Regions from separate parts of the Homo sapiens genome. Here regions 1 and 3 are each linked to region 2. The links are contacts of gene promoters, found by promoter capture Hi-C in human tissues and cell types (Jung and others, 2019). All regions are on one chromosome and are shown on one strand. Each heading gives the region's core, a stretch centred on a gene start or on the middle of the fragment in contact. The rest is flanking DNA. Distances are from core to core; before and after follow the strand shown.

Region 1 (4,189 bases), core at 161-2,660, 340 kb before region 2:
AAACCAGCCAACTACTTTTGCCCAGACTAAAACATCAGGGGCAAGGGGTGGAGGAAGTAGAATGGAGAAGGAAAATGACTCCTTTGTATTTAGATAGTAAATGAGTATGAAAATTATATGCAAACAAGTCATGCATATTATTTTCATCTCAACATTTTGAACACCTTTTATAATCTTAGTGTAGCCTTAGGGAATGTGGAAAGAAACGAGGTTAATATCTTTTGGGAAATTAATTTGTGCCAAACTATTTGGCTTCTTCGTCCTAGTTGCATTGTCTCCCTGACCTCATCTCCCCTGAGAATCAGCCTCTGTTTCCCTGGTCAAGGCCACGGCTTTTCTCTGATCCTGAGGAGAGTTTCCTACCAGAGTGGAAGCAGGGAGGACTGAAAGCACTAGGAACAGAGGGGAGCTATCGGATTGCATCTAGAACCTGCTGTGAGCAACATCTTCAGAATTAACCATAATGTGTTCCCTCCTTTCCTGTGTCCAGATGAGGAAGGAGAACTTTGATTCTTCCTTCCAATTACATCCAAAATATCCACACAACTACTAATATTTGGAAGCTTTGATCCTTTGGGGTGAGGATGCGAGAGGAAATCTTATGAAATGTTGGGAGGCCATTAAAGGAGGCCCATGCAAGAGTTGGTGGTAGCAATGGGCACAACTGGGATGAACAGCCTGTGTTTTCAAGGGATAACTGGAAGCAGAGATGAGTGAAGGGGAAGAAGTAGAAGACGCATATGCTAATAGGGCATGCTCCAATAGTGCTCATGACCTCAGGTGGCCTCTCCACAGTCTAAACTGGAGCTGGGATCTCCAAAGGCCCTCTTCGTTCCCAAGACTTTAATTATAATCTGTATATGCAGGTGACTCCCTAATCCATATTTCCAGCCCAGTCTTTCTTGGAATTAAAAACTCAACTAACTACTAGCATCTCCAATGGCTGTCTCAGAAGCACCCAATATCCTAAACTGATCTCATCTTCTCTGCCTCATGAAACTGGCTCCTCTAACATTCTCTGAGTAAATGGCACAATCCTGTTAGCTGCTTAAACTAGAAATCTGAGCGTCAACCCTATGTCCTCCTTCTCCCTTAACCTCAAATCCAACCAAGTCCTATCAATCACCAAGTTCTATTAATTCTGCTTCCTAAACATCTTCCAAATCTGTCCTCCCCTCATCACCACTATATATGTCAAGTCACCGTCTTTCCTCTCCGAAACCAATGCAAAAGTCTCCTGGCCAAGGCTTGCTCCCTGCAATCCATCTTATACCCTGAGGTCAAGTGATTTTTTTCAGTACAGAAGCTTTACGACTTACAATGGAGTTATGTCTGAATAAACCCATCCATTATAAATTGAAAATATCGTAAGGCAGAAGTGCTTCTTCAACTTCACCATATTTTCAGCTTAAAATGGGTTTATCTGATATAACTGCATCATAAGGTGAGGAGCATACTGAATCATTTCGCACCATCGTAAAGTTGAAAAATCCTAAGTCGAACCATCGTTGAGTTGGGGACTGCCTGTAGGCAAAACCTGTCGTTTTATTTCCCTGCTAAAACAAACTTTCAATGATTTCTCACTGCCCTTGGGTTGAAGTCTGTACTCTGTATTATGAGGTCTGTCTCACTCTCCAGCCTCTCCTCTAGCATTATCCCTTCCCCAAAAGTCTGCAGTAGAACTGGACCTTGTCTGTACTCTCTCTTGCCCCTGGACTTTTGTACCTGCAGTTCCCTGTTTGGAACACTCTCTTAGCCTCCCCTTTCCTTCTGGTTAACTCTTCCCCAGTTTAGACATTACACCCTCTCAGAAGAAGCCTTTCCAGACTGCAAGAGTAGGTTAGCTACCCCTGCTGTATATTGCCATAGTGCACTACACTCCACCATGGTCACCCTTATCACAGTTCATTTCATTGCCTACTCCACTGCCTGGCTTCCTGACTAAACTAAAAAAATCTCTGAACAGCATCCAACCTTATCAACAATGTATCCATAGCACAGTACCTGACACCTAGTAAAGCGATCAATGTTTGTTATAAGACTGAATAAATGTAAAGCCATTTTTGCTTTTCAATCCATCCAAAATGCACACCCCTTCCTCAAAATACAGCTTGGCTGACAGGACCAAGAAACAGCTACAAAGCTGTGTATTTTGCTTGGTCACATAGTGAGAGAGAGGCTGCCGGTGAGACACGGGAACTCTTTAAGCCTTAATTTCCTCATCTGTAAGATAGGAATAGTAAAATTTTCCTCATGTAATTCAATAAACAATAGCTATTATATCAGGAACCCAATTCCCCAATAGTGATAGAACTTGTGTTCCCTTGGTCAGAAGACTCAAGCTCATGACTGAAACTGCCCACCAGGTGGCGGTATTAACCTGCACTGGTCATGTTCGGTTTCCACTGCAGAGCAAGACAAGTAGTCACAGGGAAGCAAAAGGTACAACCTGGGCTGCTTCCTCAGAGCTTTGGGTGGAACTGGGCAGGGGCAGAAACAACTCAGAGACAGGGCATATGTCAAGAAGGCCTCATGTTTCTTGGACCCATCCTCCTCATTTTCTCATCCCAGGCTTCTCCGAGATACTGTTTATGCTGAGGAATAAGCATATTCTGGCTTACTGTTCACAGTGGAGGGAGTTTCTCCCCTTCTAGATAAGTTTTTATCCCACCAGTGTTCTGCTTCCCCAGTAGAGACTGTGTTAAGAAAAGAGGCAAATTTGCTTTCTCAGACTGCACAGAGCATCTCATTATTTTGTGAAGCCCCATGGCCACCTATTTCTGAGACATGGGGCATGGCGGAAGCCAGAGTTATTCTTGGCTGTAGATTTTATTCATCCTTTTCCACCTTGATTTCAATGAATGAGTTCAAGTCAGGACAGCAGGTTTTGTGGGGTTGGTCAAAAGATGGGGAGCCAGGTGCATTCTCATCCCCTCCCTCATCTTCCTCTTCTTGGAAATTAGGATTGTAAAGTTCTGGTGGAAGGAGCTGGGCTTCAGCAGAAGGCAGTCTGTCTGAGGGAGGCCCATACACACGGTTGGCTTTGGTGCCATGCTTAGAGTTAGCATCCAGGTGGTAGCAGAGCTCTGTGAGGCGCTGGGCCCGGAAACGGGGAGGGCGGGCCACCCACACACCTGGCTCGTTAAGACTGTCCTCTTCATCTGACATCAGTTCCTCTGTCACATCATTCCACAGACGTTGGTCCTCAGGTCCAAAATGCCTCATGATACTGGATCGGTTGGCAAAAAGCTAAGGCAGGAACCCAGGAGATAGATTAGGAAGGTAAACATTCTATGGATTAGATTTGGGGAAAAGGTTTGGTGGGGAAGGCTGTGTAAAATCTGTGCCTAAGTGAACCCAGTCCCCAAGTCAGATCTTAGCATTGGCTCACTGTTCTTCTCTATCTTCCTACATTCCTGGCTCTCAACCCTATTCTCATATGCCATGTCCTCTGGCCCTTCCCACTTAGGAAAGGGTTTAGAGTTTAGTATCTTGAAAGAAAGGCCTAGAAACCTACCCGATATCGGCGACTTCGAAGTTTCTTCTCCTCTTTTTCCTTCAGGCCTTTAAAGGGGTTCAGGGAGTTGCGGTACTCACGCCTCTTAGTAAGGAAGTAGGCCACACAGGCTCCTGGCGGGGAGGGAAGGAAGGGAGCAAGAAGGAGGGTCCTCTGAGTAGTGGTCCCCAGCCCGTTTTTCTGCCCTAACACTATTGAATGGGAGGTTGGCGATCACTACTTAGATGAGGGCTTTTTTTTTTTTTTTTGAGATGTAGTTTCACTCTTGTTGCCCAGGCTGGAGTGCAATGGCACAATCTCGGCTTACCACAACCTCCGCCTCCTGGGTTCAAGCGATTCTCCTGCCTCAGCCTCCCGAGTAGCTGGGATTACAGGCATGTGCCACCACATCCAGCTCTTTTTAGTAGAGATGGGGTTTCTCCATGTTGGTCAGGCTGGTCTCAAACTACTGACCTCAGGTGATCCACCTGCCTTGGCCTCCCAAAGAGCTGGGATTACAGGCGTGAGCAGCCGTGCCTGGCCTAGATGCTGGGCTTTCTTGGCATAGGCATTAGCATCTTCACTCCTCTTTGGTTAGGATTCTTTTTATTTATTTATTTTATTATGATTTTGTTATGAGACAGGGTCTCGCTCTGTCACCCAGGCTTGAGGGCAGTGGCATGGTCATGCATG
Region 2 (4,344 bases), core at 1,691-4,190:
CAGTCTGAAGTGCACGTAGCACCAATTATGGTTCACTGTAGCCTCAGCCTCCCAAGTAGCTGGGCAGGGACTACAGGCACACGCCACTTTGCCCAGCTAATTTTTGTATTTTTAGTGGAGAATGGGTTTTGCCATATTGCCCAGGCTGGTTTTGAACTCCTGGACTCAAGCAATCTGGCTCCCAAAGTGTTGTGAGCCACTCCGCCTGGCCTTAAGAATCTCACCATTTTAAAAGCTTTTGATATATACTGCCAAAGAATAGAAAGATTGTACTGGTTCTTGCTCCTTTTTTCCTCCCATGCCTAAGTTTTTAAAAAAAATCAGATATAGTTGTAATTATATATTATGTACAATTTTACATTCTTCTTTGGCTTAACAAAATTATTTTCGCATGTTTGTCATACTATGTAACCCTTTTAAGAGATGCATAATAATTTTTTTTGGATATAATTATAGTTTGCTTAAACTTTTGTTTATTGTTGGAATTTAGTCTTGCCATTTTTCACACATAATTTTTATGTATTAAAGCAGGCCTTATAGTAGTAGTGATCTGAGCTTTGAAAGCTGGCTTTGAATTCCCTGCACATTATTATATATATTACATAATATATATTATGTATAATATATATATAATTTTTATTTTTTCCTTTGAGACAGAGTCTTGCTGTTGCCCAGGCGATTCTCCTGCCTCAGCCTCCCGAGCAGCTGGGTTTACAGGCATGTACCACCATGCCCAGCTAATTTTTGTATTTTTAGTAGAGATGGGGTTTCGCCATGTTGGCCAGGCTGGTCTGAAACTCCTGGGCTCAGGTGATCCTCCCGCCACAGCCTCCCAAAGAGCTGGGATAACAGGTGTGAGCCACCACGCCCAGCCAGCCCTGCACACTTCTAATTAGTCCAATGACTTAGGCAAGTTTCTTCATTTCATTAAGCCTTTTTCTTTTTCCCTAAAAAAGGTTATGGTTTTGGAAATACTTTCCCCGTGGGGTTGTTGTGAGAGTCCAGTGAAATAATAAGGAGTGGTGCTTATTACAAAATCAAACGCTCAACAAAAATAGGATTCAAAGCCATTTTTAAAAATCACATTTCCTTTTGTTGGCTTGATTAAATTGGGTACCAATAAGATTAACAAATCTTGATTAGGTTAAGATTAGTATAAAAGACCTTTCTTCCAGGGTATTCAATCATTTAGAGCTTGTCTTCGGTGCTCAACTTTAGTTATCCCAGATCACTGAAGCTGAGATGGCTGATGAAGTAATTTGCAGTGAAATTTTAAGCGACTGTGACTCTGCTGCAAGTTCCCCAGATCTTGAGGTAAGGAATTGTGAGAAAAAGTGGGGGTGAGGGGAATAGTGGGGTATAATGAGTCACTTGATTTTTTGGTTTGCTAATGAGGATCTTCTCTTGTCCAAATCCCTCGGCCAACCATGTTTGTTTAACTTTTTGGTTGGGCTATATGTATCTTTCGAACTGTAGGTTAGTGTGCCCACAAAAATTTCTCTTGCAAACGTACACTGCCATTCCTTTCTTTTTAATAAATGTGTAGGACTGCTACCAAAATATGGCAGTCCTGCCTTCCAGGGCTAGGTCTCATTGGTACTTGGGGTGCAGGGGTGTAGTGGGAACCTGCCAGGAGAAATTCCTCTGGGATCTTGGGGGCTTGAGGGCTTAAATGAAGGGTGGCACCCAAATCCCCAATCAATGCCTGTTCAATCAACAAACATCTAACAGGACATTATGTGGTAGGCATATTGCCAGGCCGTGGAGATGCGAATATAAATAGGAACCGGCCCCTCATCTGCAGGCGCTCACAACCTAGTTAGGAAACAGTAAAACAATTAAGCGCGCCGTGGAGATAGGCCCACTTGTCCTGGGAAATGAGGGGAAGCTGGGGTTTGCAGTGGTTTGATTGAAGGGGGACTACATGTTAGAGGCACAGACTGGGTGCAGGTACACCCAAAGGAACGAGAAGAGTGGAAGGAAACAACATCCACAAAGTAACCACATGCTGGCGTATCGAAGGCCGTGATTTACGGTTTTGAGACTTTACCTCGCCAGCAAAGGGGGGCCAGTCTGTTAGCGGTGCAGATTGGAGGGGTGACATTGGAAGCTGTCCAGGAAAAAGAAAATGGAACTGGGGAGCAGAAGGCCTACGCAAGAGGGCGGGACAGACAGGACTTGTGACTAGTAGCTCTGGACTGAGGAATCCTCCCTGCTTTCTGGTGCGGGAGAGCTAGTGGATGATGGTGCCAATAACCTGGATGGGGAAAGTAAGCTCCCTCCTGGAATGCTTCATTCACAACCTCCATTTTCAGCAACATCCCATCTACTGGTGCTTCCTGGTCGAGATACAAGTTTCCTGAAACTGCTGCTCTGTTTTGGGCCTCACCCGGCCAACAGCTCACTAGCTGGCAAGCAGTAGTATCAAGATGGCGGCCCCCTAGGACTGGCTAGTCATGTGACCTCGGGTTTCCCAAGTTTGAAGCCCGGCAGTCCTTTCGGGGGCAAGGTTCACCTGTCACGAAACGAGTGTCACCCCTTCGACTCTCGCAAGCCAATCGGCATCTGAGACTGGGCCACTGCGGTGAGGCGATCGGAAGATTGGTCCTTTCCAGTCGCCTAGCTAGGGCCAATCACGGAGCGTCCCATACTTCGCGGGCCCGCCCGTAGGCCGGGGAGAAGCAGGAATATCGTCACAGCGTGGCGGTATTATTACCTAAGGACTCGATAGGAGGTGGGACGCGTGTTGATTGACAGGCAGATTTCCCCTACCGGGATTTGAGAATTTGGCGCAGTGCCCCGCCTTAGAGGTGGGGCCTTATTTGATTGCCAAGTAATATTCCCCAATGGAGTACTAGCTCATGGTGACGGGCAGGCAGCTTGACTAATGAGTCCTCGGCGTGGCCGGCGCAGCTCTCCAATCGCCGGGCGGCGGGCCCCAGTCTGAGCGGCGATGGCGGCGGCGGCGGCGGCGGCAGCAGCAGCGGGGGCTGCGGGCGGTCGGGGCTCCGGGCCGGGGCGGCGGCGCCATCTTGTGCCCGGGGCCGGTGGGGAGGCCGGGGAGGGGGCCCCGGGGGGCGCAGGGGACTACGGGAACGGCCTGGAGTCTGAGGAACTGGAGCCTGAGGAGCTGCTGCTGGAGCCCGAGCCGGAGCCCGAGCCCGAAGAGGAGCCGCCCCGGCCCCGCGCCCCCCCGGGAGCTCCGGGCCCTGGGCCTGGTTCGGGAGCCCCCGGCAGCCAAGAGGAGGAGGAGGAGCCGGGACTGGTCGAGGGTGACCCGGGGGACGGCGCCATTGAGGACCCGGTGAGGGAAGGAGGGCGAGCGAGCAGGCCGGCGGCTGGCCGGCCGGGTCACTGGAGGCCCAGAGCTCGGGCGAGCGGGTGGCAGGCGGGGGGTGGGGTTGGGCGGGGAATAACGTGGCTGGGGCCGGGTCGGGCCGGGGATGGGTCAGCGATCACTACAAGGGGCCCGACTGGCTTGATTCGGGCGTCACGGTTGCCTAGTGTTGTTCTAGAGAGGGTAGCTTTTCTTTTATCACGACCCTCGCATGGGGCGAGGGAAATGGCCGAGCATGGCTGAGGCCGCGCTCTGGCCGAGAGCAGGGCACAGCCCCTGCGTTGGTTCCTCTTAAGCTGTCCTCCATACCCTCCCCACTTATATTAGGAGCTGGAAGCTATCAAAGCTCGAGTCAGGGAGATGGAGGAAGAAGCTGAGAAGCTAAAGGAGCTACAGAACGAGGTAGAGAAGCAGATGAATATGAGTCCACCTCCAGGCAATGGTGAGTAACTGGCGGTTGCACGCGGAGCCCGGGTTCTCGGGTTGGAAGGGTTGTGGGGAGGATGGGGAATGTGGGGTTAGATACTCGGCACCCTGGAGCTGCTTGTCTGAGCTATTATGACTGTGCCGCGGTCATAGTCCGTTGTGTGTTCCTCTGACCTTTGTGAGGCAGAACGTATATTTTGGTGGTGGTAGCCTTGTGCCTCCCTTTGTGCCTGTTATAATTGTGTTGCTCTTTGTTCTTAGTCTACGTCTATCTTTCTTTGTAGAGGTTGCGTGCTCGCATTTGACCTTCAAATCTAATAGTTTTTCCTCCAATTGGAGACGCTTTAGGATTCTAAGAGAAAGCAAGCTGCAAGGGGTTTCCCCTTTAATCTAGAAATGTGGAGTCTCAGCCCACTTAATTTTGCTCACTCTTAAAAGCATTTCAACCAAAGCCATTCATTAGGGATTTGATTTGGAGGCAGGAGGGATTCCTATACTGTTTTAAGTGTGTATTAATTCTTTCAATTTATTGAATATTTAGTGAGTACCTGCTATGCACTAGGCACTATTCTCGGTTGTGG
Region 3 (4,111 bases), core at 326-2,825, 410 kb before region 2:
GATACCCAGTGGCAAGTGGAGGACTCCTGTAATGCACACGATCCTCACGACGATGGTCCCGACTTCGCGACTCACTACCATGTCGACGATCCCAGCTACGGCTACGGTGACGACACTGCCGACCTGGACTTCGGCTCCGACTATTTCTCCGTCTATACCGATCCCGATCTCGACTACGACTACAGAGGGAAACAACTACAGTCATGCCCACATCATGTTTAGGCCAACAACCAAGTGCATATACAACAGTGGTCCCATAAGATTATAACGGTGCTGAGAAGTTCGTATAACCTAGTGATGTTACAGCCACTGTAATGTCGTAATGTATTACTTATGTGTTTGTGGTGATACTGGTGTAAACCAAACTATTACCTACTGCACTCCCAGTTGTATAAAAATACAGCACATCCAATTATGTACAAAGTGAATCTCATGAAGATAGAAAGACTAGTGTTTACTAGAGGCTGGGAAGGATGGAAGGATGGAAGGATGGCGGCTGTGGGTGGAATGAACAGAAGTAGATGAATGGATACAAATATGTCATTTAATAGAAAAAATAAGACCCAGGGCTGGGCGCGGTGGCTCACGCCTGTAATCCCAGCACTTTGGGAGGCCAAGGCGGGCAGATCACCTGAGGTCGAGAGTTCGAGACCAGCCTGACCAACATGGAGAAACTCCGTCTCTACTAAAAACACAAAATTAGACCAGGCACGGTGGCTCACGCCTGTAATCCCAGCACTTTGGGAGACCAAAATGGGTGGATCACTTGAGATCAGGAATTCCAGACCAGTCTGGCCAACATGGTGAAACCCCATCTCTACCAGAAATACAAAAATTAGCCAGGTGTGGTGGTGCGCAACTGTAATCCCAGCTACTCAGGAGGCTGAGGCAGGAGAACTTCTTAAACCTGGGAGGCGGAGGTTGCAGTGAGCCGACGTCGCGCCACTGCACTCCATCCTGGGCAACAGAGTGAGACTCTGTCTCAAAAAACAAACCAAAAAAATTAGCCAGGCATGGTGGCACACGCCTGTAATCCCAGCTATTCAGGAGGCTGAGGCAGGAGAATCACTTGAACCTGGGAGGCAGAGGTTGCGGTGAGCCAAGATCACGCCATTGCATTCCAGCCTGGGCAACAAAAGCGAAACTCGGTCTCAAAAAAAAAAGAAAAAATAAGACCCAGTGTTCAACAAATCAGTAGGGTTATTACTACAGTGTACAATAATCTATTATACATTTCAAAATAGCTAGTAGAGAATAATTTGAATGTTTCCTAGCATCATGAAAAGATAAACATTTAGGTCAAGGATAACTCAAGTACACTGATTTGATCTTTACAAATTATATGTATTAAATTTCACACATACCAGAAACTACATACAATATGTATCAATTAAAAATTGTTTAAAAATAAAACAATTACGTACAGTATATACTTCACGATAAAAAGTAATGATGTCACTGATTCATGTATTTACTATATTTATCATTCTAGAATATATTACTTCTACTTCGGTTAACTATAAAACAGCCTTAGGCTGGTCCTTCAGAAGGTGCTCCTAAAGAAAGCACTGTTACAGCAGAGTACAACTCTATGTGTATTAATGCCCTTGAAGACCTTCCAGTGGGACAAGATGTGGAGGTGAAAGACCCTCTGCAGGCCTAGGCTCATGTGTCTTTGTGTCGTAGTTTTCAACAATAACAATAATGTTTAAAAAGTAAAAGACAAAAAAATTTAAAAATAGAAAAAAGCTTATAGAATAAGGACATAAAGAAAACTTGTAGAGTTGTACAATGTGTTTGTGTTTTAAGCTAAATGTTTCAATTTTTTATTTTTATTTTTATTTTTTTTGAGACAGGTTCTCCATCTGTTGCCCAGGCAGGAGTTTAGTGCTGCAATCTCGGCTCACTGCAACCTCGAACTCCTGGGCCCAAGCAATCCTCCAGCCTTAGCCTCCCAAGTAGCTGGGAGTACAAACATGTACTACTACACCTGGGTAATTTTTAAATTTTTTGTAGAGACAGGATTTTGCTATGTTGCCCAGGCTGGTTTTGAACTCCTGGCCTGAAGTGATCCTCCCGCCTTGGCTTCCAAAGTGCTAGGATTAAAGATACGAGCCACTGTGCCTGGCCCAGAATTACTGACCTGCGCTTTCTATCCCTGCTTTTATTATGGCTCCGACTCCTCTTCTTCCTGTGAAAGAGAGTACATTCTTCTTTTTTTTTTTTTAATTTTGAGAAAGAATCTCGCTCTGTCGTGCAGTGGTGCAATCTTGGCTCACTGCAACCTCCGCCTTCCAGGTTCAAGCGATCCTCATGCCTTAGCCTCCTGAGTAGCTGGGATTACAGGCATGTACCATCATGCCCAGCTAATTTTTTATATTTTTAGTAGAGACAAGGTTTCGCTATGTTGGCCAGGTTCATCTTGAACCCCTGGCCTCAAGTGATCCACCTGCCTCAGCCTCCCAAAGTGCTGGGATTACATGCATGAGCCCCGCGTGAGCACCGCGCCAGGTCAGGAGTGTAAATTCTTAAAGAGAAGGTTTCGTTATTGCTGCCAAAGAAAAGGAATTACAGTAAGGCCAGAATGAAACAGAAAGCATGAAAAAACCAAAGACCCGAAGATGATCCAGCAGTGGTTCACAGCAATTGCACAATACCAACTTACAGCCCTGAAAGCTGTCAGGCATCTGAAGAGGCCATTTTTCCCCCTAATGCGAAGCAAAACCTGGTGTTTCCAAATCAGGGGTCCTCTTGCTATTTTTTTTTTTTTTGAGACAGAGTCTCACTCTGTTTCCCAGGCTGGAGTGCGATGGTGCGACCTCGGCTCACTACAACCTCTGCCTCCCATGTTCAAGCAATTCTCCTGCCTCAGCCTCCTGAGTAGCTGGGATTACAGGAGCCTGCCACCGCGCCCAGCTAATTTTTGTATTTTTAGTAGAGACGGGGTTTCACCATGTTGGTCAATCTGGTCTCGAACTCCTGACCTCAGGTGATCCACCCACCTCGGCCTCCCAAAGTGCTGGGATTACAGGTGTGAGCCACCACGCCCAGCCCCTCTTGGTATTTTATTCAAATGAAGTATATTGATGCTAGGACTAATCCACAAATCTACACTGGAAAATGAAGACTAGATAATTAAATCAAGTCACCATTATTCTCATGACCTAGGTGGAGCCATTACTAACAGTCAGCAGTCTTAACAGAAACAATCTCCCTATTCTGGTTATTTTTCCAATGGACAAAACTGTTTCCCTTCCCCAAGTTGCCAACCCATTTCTTCCTCCCACACTCACTTGCTTGTCTCCCCGATGGTGCTGCTTCCACTGGTCTCATTGCCACTGTTGCTGGTGCTGCTGGTGGTATTGCTAGGATAATCCTTTTTAACTTCTTTCCTTTGTTGCTCATCCTGAGGCATTCACCAGGAAAATGTCACAAGGTATAAGGTGGCAGACACACAGATTCCAATGGGCAAAGGGAACAAAGGTGGACAAGGAATAAATCAAACCACTTGATTATCTAGCCAGATTTTCAGCACCCTTATTTCCTAACAAAGGGAGTAAGAAAGGAATCAAGGAAACTACCTAAAAGGAAGAGATCAGCATGACAGATTTTGATGTCAAACTTCAGTTACCCAACATCTGCTCCACTAACATTTCCCAGGAGAGTTACAAATTGGTGCTAGGCTGGGGGCAGTGGCTCACGCCTGTAATCCCAGCACTTTTAAAGGCTGAGGCAGGCGGATCAATTGAGGCCAGGAGTTTGAGACCAGCCTCGCCGACATGTCGAAACCCCATCTCTACTAAAAATACAAAAATTAGCCAGGCATAGTGGCACACGCCTGTAGTCCCAGCTACTTGGGAGGCTGAGGCAGGAGAATCATTTGAATCTGGGAGGCAAAGGTTGCAGTAACTGGGATTGTACCACTGCACTCCAGCCTGGGCAGCCTAGTGAGACTCTGTCTCAAAAAAAAAAAAAAAAAAAAAAAAAAGAGGCTGGGCGCAGTGGCTCACACCTATAATCCCAGCACTTTGGGAGGCCAAGGCAGGCGGGTCACCTGAGGTCAGGAGTTCCAGACCAGCCTGACCAACATGGAGAAACCATCTCCACTAAA

What was found. The method cuts DNA at HindIII sites, captures the fragments that hold promoters and counts their contacts. A contact is called where the count stands out against the background at its distance.
Region 1: a fragment that was not itself captured here is called in contact with the fragment with the promoter of PABPN1 in region 2 in 1 of the 25 tissues and cell types used here (thymus).
Region 3: a fragment that was not itself captured here is called in contact with the fragment with the promoter of PABPN1 in region 2 in 1 of the 25 tissues and cell types used here (H1 embryonic stem cells).

What each region holds. Positions count from the first base shown.
Region 1 is chr14:22,984,386-22,988,574 of GRCh38, forward strand. C14orf93 (chromosome 14 open reading frame 93) reads right to left here. Exons shown (of 7, transcript NM_021944.4): 6 at 3,518-3,630; 7 at 1,509-3,249. The coding sequence ends at 2,830. It overlaps AJUBA-DT (AJUBA divergent transcript), which reads left to right. Exons shown (of 3, transcript XR_007064074.1): 1 at 1-435. Among named protein-coding and RNA genes, the nearest start is that of AJUBA-DT, 2.2 kb to the left of the region's middle. RefSeq lists a silencer at 2,346-2,455. The HindIII fragment of the contact is 3,415 bases long and covers 1-3,118 here.
Region 2 is chr14:23,318,517-23,322,860 of GRCh38, forward strand. It overlaps PABPN1 (poly(A) binding protein nuclear 1), which reads left to right and starts at 2,941. Exons shown (of 7, transcript NM_004643.4): 1 at 2,941-3,304; 2 at 3,665-3,779. The coding sequence starts at 2,954. It overlaps BCL2L2-PABPN1 (BCL2L2-PABPN1 readthrough), which reads left to right. Exons shown (of 8, transcript NM_001387346.1): 4 at 3,665-3,779. RefSeq lists enhancers at 2,032-2,682, 2,371-2,440, 2,694-3,505, 3,506-4,315 and silencers at 2,841-3,270, 3,331-3,400. The HindIII fragment of the contact is 10,317 bases long and covers 1-4,344 here.
Region 3 is chr14:22,906,190-22,910,300 of GRCh38, forward strand. RBM23 (RNA binding motif protein 23) reads right to left here. Exons shown (of 14, transcript NM_001077351.2): 3 at 3,294-3,406; 4 at 2,144-2,191; 5 at 6-179. Among named protein-coding and RNA genes, the nearest start is that of RBM23, 11 kb to the right of the region's middle. The HindIII fragment of the contact is 8,113 bases long and covers 1-4,111 here.